3 separate regions of the Homo sapiens genome follow, and all the other regions are linked to region 2. The links are contacts of gene promoters, found by promoter capture Hi-C in human tissues and cell types (Jung and others, 2019). All regions are on one chromosome and are shown on one strand. Each heading gives the region's core, a stretch centred on a gene start or on the middle of the fragment in contact. The rest is flanking DNA. Distances are from core to core; before and after follow the strand shown. Region 1 overlaps LOC101929457 (a long non-coding RNA gene). Region 2 holds the start of SCAPER (S-phase cyclin A associated protein in the ER). Region 3 has its middle 7.6 kb from the start of ISL2.

The links. Contacts are between HindIII fragments. The study calls those that stand out against the background at their distance.
Region 1: a fragment that was not itself captured here is called in contact with the fragment with the promoter of SCAPER in region 2 in 1 of the 25 tissues and cell types used here (lymphoblastoid cells).
Region 3: a fragment that was not itself captured here is called in contact with the fragment with the promoter of SCAPER in region 2 in 1 of the 25 tissues and cell types used here (IMR-90 fibroblasts).

Annotation. Positions count from the first base shown.
Region 1 is chr15:77,526,632-77,530,928 of GRCh38, reverse strand. All of the region lies in intron 1 of LOC101929457 (a long non-coding RNA gene), which reads right to left. Among named protein-coding and RNA genes, the nearest start is that of LINGO1, 100 kb to the left of the region's middle. RefSeq lists enhancers at 1-570, 571-1,412, 1,413-2,256, 3,099-3,942. The HindIII fragment of the contact is 4,673 bases long and covers 1-3,850 here.
Region 2 is chr15:76,903,270-76,907,209 of GRCh38, reverse strand. It overlaps SCAPER (S-phase cyclin A associated protein in the ER), which reads left to right and starts at 1,870. Exons shown (of 32, transcript NM_020843.4): 1 at 1,870-1,911. RefSeq lists an enhancer at 1,524-2,024 and silencers at 1,765-2,074, 2,085-2,194, 2,215-2,294. The HindIII fragment of the contact is 13,869 bases long and covers 1-3,940 here.
Region 3 is chr15:76,327,243-76,331,124 of GRCh38, reverse strand. No RefSeq gene overlaps it. Among named protein-coding and RNA genes, the nearest start is that of ISL2, 7.6 kb to the left of the region's middle. The HindIII fragment of the contact is 5,643 bases long and covers 1-3,882 here.

The sequences.
Region 1 (4,297 bases), core at 265-2,764, 620 kb before region 2:
AGAGTTTATATTCTAATGCAGGAGAAGGAGAAACAACATAAGTAAGTTAATTACAAAGTGCCAGAAGGCAATACATCTGTGGAATGCAACAGAGCAGGGTCAGGACATGGGGAGGGCCAGGCGGAGGCGGTTTAAAGTCGAATGTTCAGGGCAGGTCTGGTGAGAAGATGAACATCAGGCTGGGTGCAGCAGCACATGCCTGTAATTCCAGCACATTCCACCCTCCTTGCCTTGGGAGGCCAAGGGGGGTGGATCACGCGGTCAGGAGTTTGAGACCAGCCTGTCCAACATGGTGAAACCCCATCTCTACTAAAAATACAAACATTAGCCAGGCGTGGTGGCATGCGCCTGTAATCTCAGCTACTAGGGAGGCTGAGGCAGGAGAATTGCTTGAACCCGGGTGGCAGAGGTTGCAGTGAGCCGAGATCGCACCACTGCACTCCAGCCTGGGCGACAGAGTGAGACTCCATCTCAGAAAAAAAAAGAAAAAAAAAGGATGAACATCAAGCAGAGACTTGAAGGAGCTGGGGAAATGAGCCAGCCATGTGGACCCAATGGGAGGAGTCTGTCAGCAGAGGAGCCGCCTGTGCGAAGGGCCTGAGGTAGCAGTGGGCCTGGGGTGCTTGTGGACAGCAGGGAGCCTGGTGTGGCTGGAGCAGAGGAATGGGAGAAGAGTGGGAGGCGATGATGGGGGAAAGGTGGAGAGAGAGGAACAGATCATGCCTTGGCATTAAAATTGCCCATGGGCAGATGGGCCTTCCTGGGCAAATCTGAAGGTCTCACAAATGATGGAGTCACATGGGGCTCATCACAACCAGAAGCAGAGTGGGAGTGGGGGCATCCAGCCCTCTCACCTCCCCTGGGAGGAGTCTTCTTCCTCCACCTCTCCTACCCTCACCCTGTGCCACCCCATGCTGCCCCTACCCCACCTCATGCTTGTGGTGTGTCCCCAGGGAGACTGGGCCAGGCTGGGTGAAGGAGGAAGGTCCATAGCCTTCCCCAGCCTAGGAGTCTGCTAGCTGCTAGTCTGAGTGAGCTTTGAACCTGCCAGGCCCTGCAGGGGCACTAGAAACCATTAGCAGGCAAACAAAAGGCCTGGGGAGGCCTATGAAGCCACCATGGAAGCCTACAGCTAGGTTTATTTCGAATTGAATAAAGAGCCCTGAAGCCCAGCCATAACCACCCGCTACTCTCCACACCCCTCCCAGACTCCTGACCTGAGGAAAGGCAGGCCCAAGGGCTTGTCCATGGCCACACAGCAACCGAGGCCAAAGCCCCGGTCATCTCCAGAGGGGAGAAGCTTTCTGTGCCCATGAGTGCAGGGCAAGCCACGGCCCAGAGAAGGCCACCACAGGTGAGGCCCACACCGGGCACGATGTGCAGAGTGGGTAGGTGGACACTGAGAACCCTTCGGGTGAGGCCCGAGCCAGTGAGTTCAGGGGCTGAGGGTCTCCTCATCTGTTTACTCGCTGTGTGACCCTAGAGAAGTGTCTTAACCTTCCTGAGCCCAACTGCAACATGGGGTTCCTAATAGCCCTACTTTACAGGGCGGCTGTAAAGATGAAGTGAGCTCACCCATCTAAAAGCACTTAGGCTACTGTGTGGCTCAGGATAAGTGTCATCCTCCCACTGCCTTCCCTCAAGTAAGAATGGAGGGGTGGGCAACTGCCAGGCGGTTCCCAGGCCTAGGTCCCCAGGGCAGACCCGCGCCTCTAGCGGAGCTCATCCCTGAACTGAGGCTGCCTTCCCCACCACCGGCCGCAGAGCCTCAGAGGCAGCCAACCAGACGGGCGCTTTTAACAGCTTTTTAATGTGATGGAGCTCGCTGAGCTTGGAGAGTGGAGGCATGTCAGGGGCTTGCCTGCGGAAGCTTTCAAGGTCAGCCAGCAGCAGCCTGACCTTGAAGCCTGTCCCTTCCCAGGAACAGCCCAGGGGCTGCCGAGACCATTCGCCATCAAGGAGGCCCTGGGGGCCCCAGCTCAGGAAAAGTATTAAAAAAAAAAAAAAACAGCGATGAAGAGGCGTTAAATGGATTAAGGAGGCAGGTGGCCAGAGAGGATGAGGGGCAAGGCTGTGCCAGGGACAGCAACAGCAGAGACCTCCTCCTCCAAGAGGCTTCAAATTGGCTTCTCCTCCCTCGTCACACGCCAAACAGTCTCCCAAGTGGAAAGACTGGGAAGATAAGCAACTTCCCCTTCATCTCCTCCTTCTCACAGTCTCCCCAGCAGGACAGCGCTGCTTCCTTCGTCCTGCAGATTCATAAAAATCAGGGTCATCTCCCTGAGAAATGGCTCAATTATCAGCTCCCCTCACAGAGAGCACAGAATAAGATGGGCCTTACAAAGTGGGGCCACCCACCAGGCCACCCGCACCCCAGCACACTGCCTCGGCGCTCCCCAGAGAAGGCAAGAACTCTGCAGGGAGGGCTTGGCACTGTCACCGCCCTCCTCCCCACCTTCTGGGGGCCTCTGCCACAGCCCTAGTGGTGGCAGGCCTGTCTAGGCAAGATGGGACTTCAGCCCCTTCCTAGCTGTTGCTGTGAGCAGGCCGGTGGCCAATGGCCTCAAGTCTAGTGTGTAGGCTGAGCCCCTCACAGCTCACCTGGCACTTCACTCCCATTATCCTCTGTAAGGCGGGGAGTGGTATACGTCTGTTTTAAAGACTAGGAAATTCAGGTCCCTCAGCCAATAGACAGAGGAACTGGAATTCAAATCCAAGTTCTGGTTCCCAGACCTGGGCACTGCAGAGCCCGCATGGGGAGGAGACTTATAGGCCTCTCAGCAGCGGGTCACATTCTCAGGGACTGGGGGGGCTCCCCCAGCAGACAGGCCAAGGAGACCCCAGGGAGAACAAGAGCAGAGGGCAGCCTCTTCCCAGCTTCCCTTCTGCCCAGGGCCGGGGTCGTGGCCAGGGCACAGTGGGGAAGGCCAGGCCCCTTCCAGGATACACACCATGCCCCAGCCCAGAGGGAAGTCATGGGAAACTAAGGGCTTCAGGAATCCCGGAGTGTCCACCCTACCCCAGAGAAGCCCAAAGGGATGAGGGGATTTCAAGTTGGGCTGGGAACCAGGTGGCCTCGTTCCAGTCCCAGCTCTGCCATGGACGAGGAGTGGCCTTGGACAAGTTCCTGCCCCTCTCCTCCCTCAGTTTCCCTGTTTGTGAAATAGGTGATGATCCTCTCTAAATGGGAAGATCTCTCTGACTCACCCCCAGGAGGATCTGGCCACCCTCTCACTCTAAACTGGCCCGGGTAGAGCCAGTAGCTGGAAGAGCCAGGGCTGAGCCCACCGCATGGGAATTCAGGGATGGGGTCTGCTGAATTCCAAACTTTCAGCAGCAGAGCGGCTGCAGGGCTTTCCCACAGATGCAGCTCAGCCCCCGGAGCAGGCCCCTCAGTTCCCACTGCAGCCCTTCCAAGTGGAAACCACAACGCTGTGGAAGCCCGGCAGAAAGTAAACAGAAAGCACGTCCCCAGGACCTCGAGGCCCCGGGCCCCGCCTGGGGCAGCCCTCAGGGAGGCGGCTCCAACCAGAGCAGATTCCTGCCGAGCCTGTCTGGACTAGCCTGGGGCCCCTGAGGGAGGAGGCAGCCACCCCCACCCCCACGCCCCCTGCTCAGATCAGAGAAAATGCTGTCTGCCTCCTGCTCAGAAGCGCCAAGGGGTAGGGGAGAGCAGGCCTGACACCAGAGCACAGGGCCCTGGTCTTAGCGCTGCTACAGACTCCCTAGAGGGGCAAGGCCAAACCTCCCTGTGCTTCACTGTCCCCATCTGAACAACAGACACGGCACATCAGCTGCTTTCTAAGGTCCTTCCCAAGTACCAAGAGTTTGATCTTAGAACGTGGAACGAGGTGGTCCGCTGAAAAGGGGAGACGAATGGGGGCTGTCTCAGGGGCTCGAGCTGGGAAGGCAGGCTGGGTCTATGAGGAGGGACCCACGTGGGCGTAGTCCTGGCCTCCCTCTCCCCCTCCACATGCCATTTTACAGCGGAGGAGACAGAGGCCTTTCCCAGGCCAGCCACACAGAAATGGAGCGCAGGGCTCCTTGCTGGCTCTGGGGTCCTGAGCCCAGGCCCTTGAGGAGGCTCATGCAGGCCCTGGCAGGTGCAAGCGAGGATGCGGGGAAGGCAATGTAGTGTGGGCCAATCTTGCTCCACCCTCTCCTCCCGAACCCCCCAGCTTTTCTCCAGGGCCTGACCAGGCCTCTAGCTTGGATCTGTCTTTGGGCAGGTGAGGGGAAGTGAAGTGCAGGGGACAGGGAGCAGGCAGAGCCGCAGGATTTGTTCCTCTCCATCTCT
Region 2 (3,940 bases), core at 621-3,120:
ATTCTCGTGCCTCAGCCTCCCGAGTAGCTGGGACTATAGGTGTGCGCCACCGCACCCGGCTATTTTTTTTTTTTTTTTTTTTGTATTTTTGGTAAAGACAGGGTTTCGCCATTTTGGCCAGGGTGGTCTTGAACTCCTGACCTCAGGTGATCCACCTGCCTCAGCCTCCCAAAGTGCTGGGATTACAGGCGCGAGCCACGGCGGCTGGCCCCTAGTGATGTTGGAAAGAATGGTTTCAGTGGGGTGGTGGGGCAGAAACCAGAGTGCAGTAAGTCCAGACTTGAGTAGTGGTTGAGGAATTGGAGGCACTCTTGTTTAGATAATTGGAGAAATGTATTATAGGAAAGAAAGCAGAGGTTGAAGTGGAGTCTGGTAGGTTCGGCGGGAGATTTCAAGATGGGAGAGACTTCAGGTTGTTTACATGCTTATGAGTATGAAAGGAAGTGGGGATAATTAAGAAATGAGGCCCTGACCGCCTTTTATAGAATTGTAGTATGCTCCCTACTCTATCCCCCTTATCCTACTCATTTTGTTAACTGTAGTGCTTATCATGTTATATAATTTACTTATTTATTGTGTTTACTATTTCTTGTGTTAAAAGCAAAATATTAGCCAAATTAAACAGAGTTTGAGCAAAGAATTATTCCCGAATCAGGCAGCCTCCTGAGCCAGAGTAGGTTCATACAGACTCCCGCAGAGCCACATGGTGGAAAAAGGTTTATAGACAGAGAAAGAAAAGTGAGGTAGGGAAACAGCCAGAATGGTTATAGCTAGACGTTTACCTTATTTGAACACGGTTTGAACAGTTGGCCGTCTTTGGCCAAAACTTGGTGATTGGCGCAAGAGTAGGTTGCAGTGTATTTACACCTCCATTTAGGTTATAGTTTACTATTTACGGAGAAACCTTCAGGCTGAACTTAAAATATGTAAGGACACAGCTTTTGGCTAAACTTGATGTAACACTTGCCTGGTTTCACCCTGCTCCAAGAAGCCGGAGGTTTTTTAGAGATTTCTGTTTATTTTGCTCACGTATTAACTCCAAGCATCTAGAATACCATCTGATATATAGTATGTGGTCAATAAACATTTGCTGAATAAATGAAAAAGCGAGTTTTCTAAGAAGGCAAGAGAGAAGGGGAGCCAGAACATAGCCATATGGTTCCTGCCCCCACAACGCTTGTGAGTCCAGGACTTCCCGCCTACTGCGGGTGGGGAGGGAGAGGGAAGGGTAAAGAGCTGTTTCCCAGCTGGATGAAAAGGGACGGTGAATATTCGTTTGATAATTACAGTCTGCATTGAATCTTTTTTCTATTTTGTTCAGACTGATTTAAACGTTAAAGTATTTAATTCATCATATGTTTGTCTTTGAAGTAGATGAAACGTATTTGTTAGGTCTCTGTACTTCGACCTTCCAAGCCTGGCACACAGAAGGGCCCTGATAAAGCTTCTCGGAGGCCTAGTTGTGTTCAGCGCAGCCCAGCGTGCTCCTGTCAAGTGCTTTCGCCAGCACAGATTTCTGTGAGGCGCGTCTCTAAGTCCTTAATCTGTGGATTGACTGTGGTGATAAGGCAGGAGGAGGGAAGAGATTGAGTACGAGAAAGACCTGTGTGGCCAAAAGCGGCGGTGTAAGCTTAACCTAGGAAAAGAAACAGCTTCGGAAACGCCGCGCCGGGACATCGAACCAAATCAACCCTCACACCTCCCGCCTGGGCGCCCCAACGGCGCGAACGGGCGTGCGCCTGCGCGCGGACAACACAGATCTTGCAGCCGGGAGCGGCGCGGCAGCGGCTGAGATCACGTGGTGCGCCGGGAAGCCACCCCGCCTCTCCGAGGCCTCCCTGCCCCGCCCCGTCACGCCCCTTTCCCGGCGGGACGCTTTGAGCCGCCCCGAACTAAGCAGGGCGGTCGGGGGTGAGTGTCCGCGAGGGGCGTGCGTAGCGCAGACCCGGGCGGGTCCGGGTTGGGGCGCGGGCCGTCTGAATGCCTTGCGGGGACCAGGGGACAAAATGGCGGCGGGGTACGCCCTTTCACCCCCTCCCCTCACCTGGGAGTGCGAGTTGAGCGGGGCAGGGATCGTTGCTGGGGGAGGGGAGCCGCGGTCGCCTGGGGAGGGCTCGGAGGTCGGCCTCGGAGGCCTCGGGACGGGGGCTGGGGTGAGCCGCGTCCGGGCCCTGCCCTGCGGGCTCATCTGGGGTGTGAGGGACGTGAGACCCCGCACACTACGCGGTCTGAGGGGTGAGTGGGGGGCTGCCGCGTCACCTCACTTGGGGGCAGCCCCGGCCGCGGGTGACGAGGCTTCTGGAATGTCTAAATGCGAGGGGCCCCTGGAGGAGCCTCCCTTCGTTTGACAGGTGATCGTCTTCGTCATCTGTCATTCCCAGCGGGGTTTACCATGCTTTCCCTGTACTCTGATCTTAGCTCTGCCCAGGAAACGGGGCAGGAATGGCCTCTCCGTCTTCCAGATGCGTGCGCTGAGGCCTGGAGGGGCGAAGAGCCTCTCGCACCTGGGAGTAGTGGGACCCAGCCTCCTGCCTCTGTTGCTGCTCTTTTCCAAAACAGCACTTCCTTGGCGCCTTTCCTCTACACCGTTTTCCAGGCGCGTTCGTGGGAACGGCACCAGGGAGGAACGGGATTGTTAGAAAGCAGGCACAAAACTGGTCCTGTAAGCAACACCTGCTGCTGTTAAGGGGGCCCCAGCTGAGATGAGGCCGCCTGTTTGTGAGCAGCTTCCTGTTGCTGGTGGACTGCATCTCTTATTCTAGTTGTGACAAGTTATTTTCCATGAAAATAGCTATTCATTAATAGTCATTTTACCGAACAGATACTAATTCCTTATATGAATTATAGTTTGTCTTAGTTTATGGATTAATTTCATCATTAACTTTTCATCTTCATAAATAATCTGGTAGAAGGATGGATGGGCTAGGAGTAATACTTATTTTATGAATGGAGAAACGGGGGCTCAAAAGGTTATTACTTGCCTTAGATCACCAGCTGGTGAGTGGTAAATCTGGGGTTAAGTTTTCTGACCTAAGGTTGGTAGTCTGACCACTGTCCCACTCTGGCCTATACTGGTGCTCTTTCCCTTCTGTTATTTCTGTTAACTATGACTTTTCCTCAAAGTTTGTTGGTTGCAGATGATTTATGCCACTTGAAGAATGATATCCACTAAAGAATTAATATTTTTAATCAATCAAAGAGTCAAGTTTTAATGTGATTTGGAAGGTTGTCTGTGGGAGAAGTAATCTGATGGCTTTGAAGGCAGACTGTTTTGAGTTTGAATCTCAGCCCCAACCCTTGTTTTTGGCAAATTAATTTTTCTGAGCCTTTCTTATCTGTAAAGTAGGAATAATATCCACCTCATAATTTTGTTGATAGTAATAAATTAGGTGTCTGTAAAGTATTGAGAACTGTTCCTAGCCCATGGTAAGCCCTCAACAAATGCTCTTTTCCTTCTTTCTCCACACTCCCTTGAGCTGCATTAAAAATATACTCTATGTGTCTTTGGTCCATTTGGGTCTGGTATAGCAAAATACCTCAGACTGAGTGGCTTATAAACAACAGAAATTCATTTCTTGCAGTTTTGGAGGCTGGGAAGTCCTAGATCAAGATGTCTGATGATTCAGTGTTTGGTGATAGCCTGCTTTCTGGTTAATAGATGGCACCCTCTAGCTGTCTCCTTACATGGTGCAAGGGTGAAGGGGTCTCTCTCTGGCCTCTTATAAGGGAATTTATCCCATTCATTAAGGTTCTGCTTTCATAATACAGTCATCTCCCAAAGGCCCCACCTCCTGATATGACCTTGGAAACTAGGATTTCCACAAGAATTTTGAAGAACACAAACATGCAGACCATAGCATTATGGTTAATCACTTGGTTGTTCAGGTCAAATAACCATGGAAGTGTAATCAGCAGTACTGTACAAATGTGTTTATAAATA
Region 3 (3,882 bases), core at 341-2,840, 580 kb after region 2:
GTGGGGAGGAGATAAAAAGACCACATGGGGTCATTACACGAGGAGGAGAAAAATTAACCCTTTAAAAATATATATATGGAGCTGGATGCAGTGACTCCCTCCTGCAATCCCAGCACTTTGGGAGGCCAAGGTGGGTGGATTGCCTAAGCTCAGGAATTCAAGACCAGCCAGGGCAACATGGTGAAACCCCATCTCTACTAAAATATAAACAATTAGCCAGGCGTGGTGGTGCACACCTGTAATCCTAGCTACTCAGGAGGCTCAGGCAGGAGAATCACTTAAACCCAGGCGGTGGAGGTTGCAGTGAGCCAAGATAGCATCATTTCACTACAGCCTGGGTGACAGAGAGAGACTCCGTCTCAAAATATATAAATATAAATATATATATAAATATATAAATATATATAAATATATATATAAATATATATAAATATAAATATATAAATATAAATAAATATAAATATAAATATATATATATATATATGAAGGCTGTCATTTCTTTCCAAATCACATTCTGAGGGTAGCCCAGGGATACCCTCCCAGGCCCAGATCTTAGGAAGGGATGAGGCCATGGGAAGGAGCTGTGCCCAGTGGCTTTGGGGGAAAGCTGCATTTTCCTCATCTTTCCAGAAGGGGGAACCCAGGCTGGCTAGCATGGCCTGGGAGTGGTTCTGAGCAGTTTGGCCAAAGGCACTGGCATATTCCCAGCCATGGCGCTTACCTTCTAGTGTTCTGCTTTCTTCTAGAAGTACTTCTCCTCTTGCCGAGATCCAGGTCCTGAGCAAAATGACAAAGAAAGGGAAGGAAGGAGGGACCGACGGAGCTCTAAAGGGAATGGATTCCCTGAAGCAGGACTGGGCGCCTTTTTTGCAGAGAGGCCAGCCTCTTGCCAAATGGGACAGGTTTGCAGCAGAGGCCCTGGATGGACGAGTGCCCTTCACTGAGACAGGCAGTAGTAGAGATGGGAAAGATGAGGCAGGGAGGTGCAGGTCGGCACTGTGAAGAGGCTGCAGTAGAGCCATGAATGACCTGGAGCTACCATAGGACACAAAGCGGGGGTGGTGCACAGAGCAGGGTGAGGAGCCTGTGGTGTCTCTTCCAAGCCTTGGAGGATAAGCTGGATTCTTCCAGACACAAAAGGAGCAGGAAGGTCTCCTAGGAAGAGGGAACGGTCTGGCAGACAGAAGGAGGCAGTGTGTGAATCAAGTGCTTTTGGGGGAAAACGTGGGCAGCTAGGAGAGGCTGGAGCCAGAGGTGACTATGGGCAGTGGCACAAGCAGAGTCATGGAGACCGGGAGAACCCATAGCCACCCCAGGCAGGCCCACATGGCCGGACGGTCAGGGAGGAAGCAGCAGGCACGAAAGACAGAAAGGGATATTTGGGTGAGCATGGGAAGCCCAAGTGCCACGCTGAGGAGCTTGGAGGTGATTCTCTTGGAAAAGGGGAAACCTCCCATTGCCTGGCTGAAGAGATTTAAGTGGGGAAATGGATGAACACAGCTATGCCGGGGAAAGAGGAACACTTAGATGTGACAAGCAAGACAAGCAACAACAAGGACATGTGTCAGGAGGGCCGGGAGGAGATGGGACCGAGGAGGATGGTGCGCATGTTGACTTGACGAGTGGCTCCCCTCTCTTCCCCAGAAATGGGCGGGACAGGGGCAAGGCTGGTTTGGGGGAAGGGTGTGAATGGGCGATAAATTAATCTCAACCATTGACATGGGGTGAAGGAAGAATTTCTATTTGTAATCCTGAGGATGGTGGAAAAGAATACCCCTTACTTGTGACTTACAGATATTGTTAAATATATTGAAAAATACATCTGGGTTGACATCCAGTTAGCAAGATTCCAGGGAACAATGCTGCTTTGTGAATTGTACCATCCCAGAGTGGGAGTGACTTCAGGTTTTTCGCTGTGCTCCAATGCTCCAGCACCTGCGAGTCAGTAACCATGAGCGTGGCGTCAGAACTGTCATGACTCATGTGCTCCTTGCATGTCTCTTTAGTAGTACTTCCAGATTCAAATTTTCCCAGCAGGAAAACTGAATATTGTAATAAGCTCCTCTGTCCTGCACAGATGTGTGTGGATTTAGGTTTTGCAGACTTTGTGGGCTGGTTACATCCCCTTTATCAGTCAGAGATGCTTGTCTTTATGATATTAAAACAAATGAAAAACGCCTTATCATATGTTCTCAAACATGAGATTATCTCTTCATAAAGTTATTGTCCTTTTAAAGGCTTTTAAGGATGCCATTTATTCTCTCCAACATGTACTCTTAAGAAGCTAAATGTGTGTTTTTTTTCTTATAACAAGGACCAATCATTCTTGTTCTAGTTTGTCTATTCATCACCTTGCAACAACTCTAACAAAAGTCCATCAAGAAACCATTTCTCAAAAGAATCTCCAGCAGATCCTCTTTCACTGGGAAACATCTCCTGGAGGTTAGAGTTACCGGTAAATTCCAAAAATAGATAATAAATGAGATAATAGAATCTGGGTTGTCACCTCTTGTCCAGTGGGATTATCCGATGTCTAATCATGGACAGATTGTGATTTATGTGATTGTAGATGGGGCATTAATCCGATTCAGGAGGGAATCCAGTCAGATTTTCATCTGCTCCGAATGTGTAATTGGTTTGGAGGCAGGAGAAAAGCAGCTTGTACCAGATTTTGCCGCATCACTGTGATGAGGTCTATTTTGATCAGCTTGAGTTATGGACAATATAAATTATTTATAGCAGCTTTAGACATGCCTTATACTTGTAAAGACCTTCAGAACAAAGTAATAATGCTCCTCTTGCTGTTGGAGGAATGAATCTTATTCAGCTGAATGCCGGTGCCCACAGCTTATAAAAATCAAGAGGGAGAAAAGATTAATGGCCTGTCGGTCCACCACCAAATACTGACCAAACATTACAAGAGTCAAGAGGTTGAGCGAGGCCCAGGAGAGGAGGCCAACTGCTGTATGAAGAATGGTCCTGGCCCTCAAGGGGTTTCACTCTGGTTGGGAAGATAAGACCCAGATTCAGGAAAGCACAGGCAACCACAGAAGGCAGTAGGTGGGGAGGAGAATTCCGCATGAACTAGACAAGCTTCCTGAAGGATATGGAGTTGGAGTTGGGTCTTAAAAGGTGAGAAGTCTTCAAATGTGGCCTGTGTAGGAGGAGGGAGAGTGCTGGGAGCAAAGGCAGGAATGCAGGCATGCTGTGGACACAGGGAGGACCCTGGGTTGGAGTGGAGGGTAAGGGAAGGTGCTGTCATTTACTAAGCAACCGCTATGTGCTGGGTGCTGGCTGGGACTGCATTTACCTCATTCAGTCTTCTCATTATCAGCAGAATGTTTTTGGCTAAAAGATAGCGCTGCTAAAAGTGGCATTAGGCTGGAGTAGTGACTCACACTTGTAATCCCAGAACTTTGGGAGGCCAAGGCAGGTGGATCACTTAAGGCCAGGAGTGTGAGACCAGCCTGGCCAACATGCAAAACCCTACCTTTACTTAAAAAAAAAAAAAATTAGCAGGGCATGGTGGTACATGCCTGTGGTCCCAACCACTTGGGAGGCAGAGTCAGGAGAATCGCTTGAACCTGGGAGATGGAGGTTGCAGTGAGCTGAGATGGCGCCACTGCACTCCAGCCTGGATGACAGAGACTCTGACTCCAAAAAAAAAAAAAGAAAAAAAATAGTGGCATTAACCAGGAATGAGTTGGCTCAAACAACAAGCACAGAGGTAGGGCAGCCCCAGAGATGAATGACTCAGTGACCCAGTGTTATCAACGGGTCCTTTTTGTTTTTCTGCTCTACTGTCCACAGATGCAGTCTCATTTTAAGGATGGTTCTTGTGGTCACGAAACGGCTGCCAAAATACCCAGGACCATATGCTCC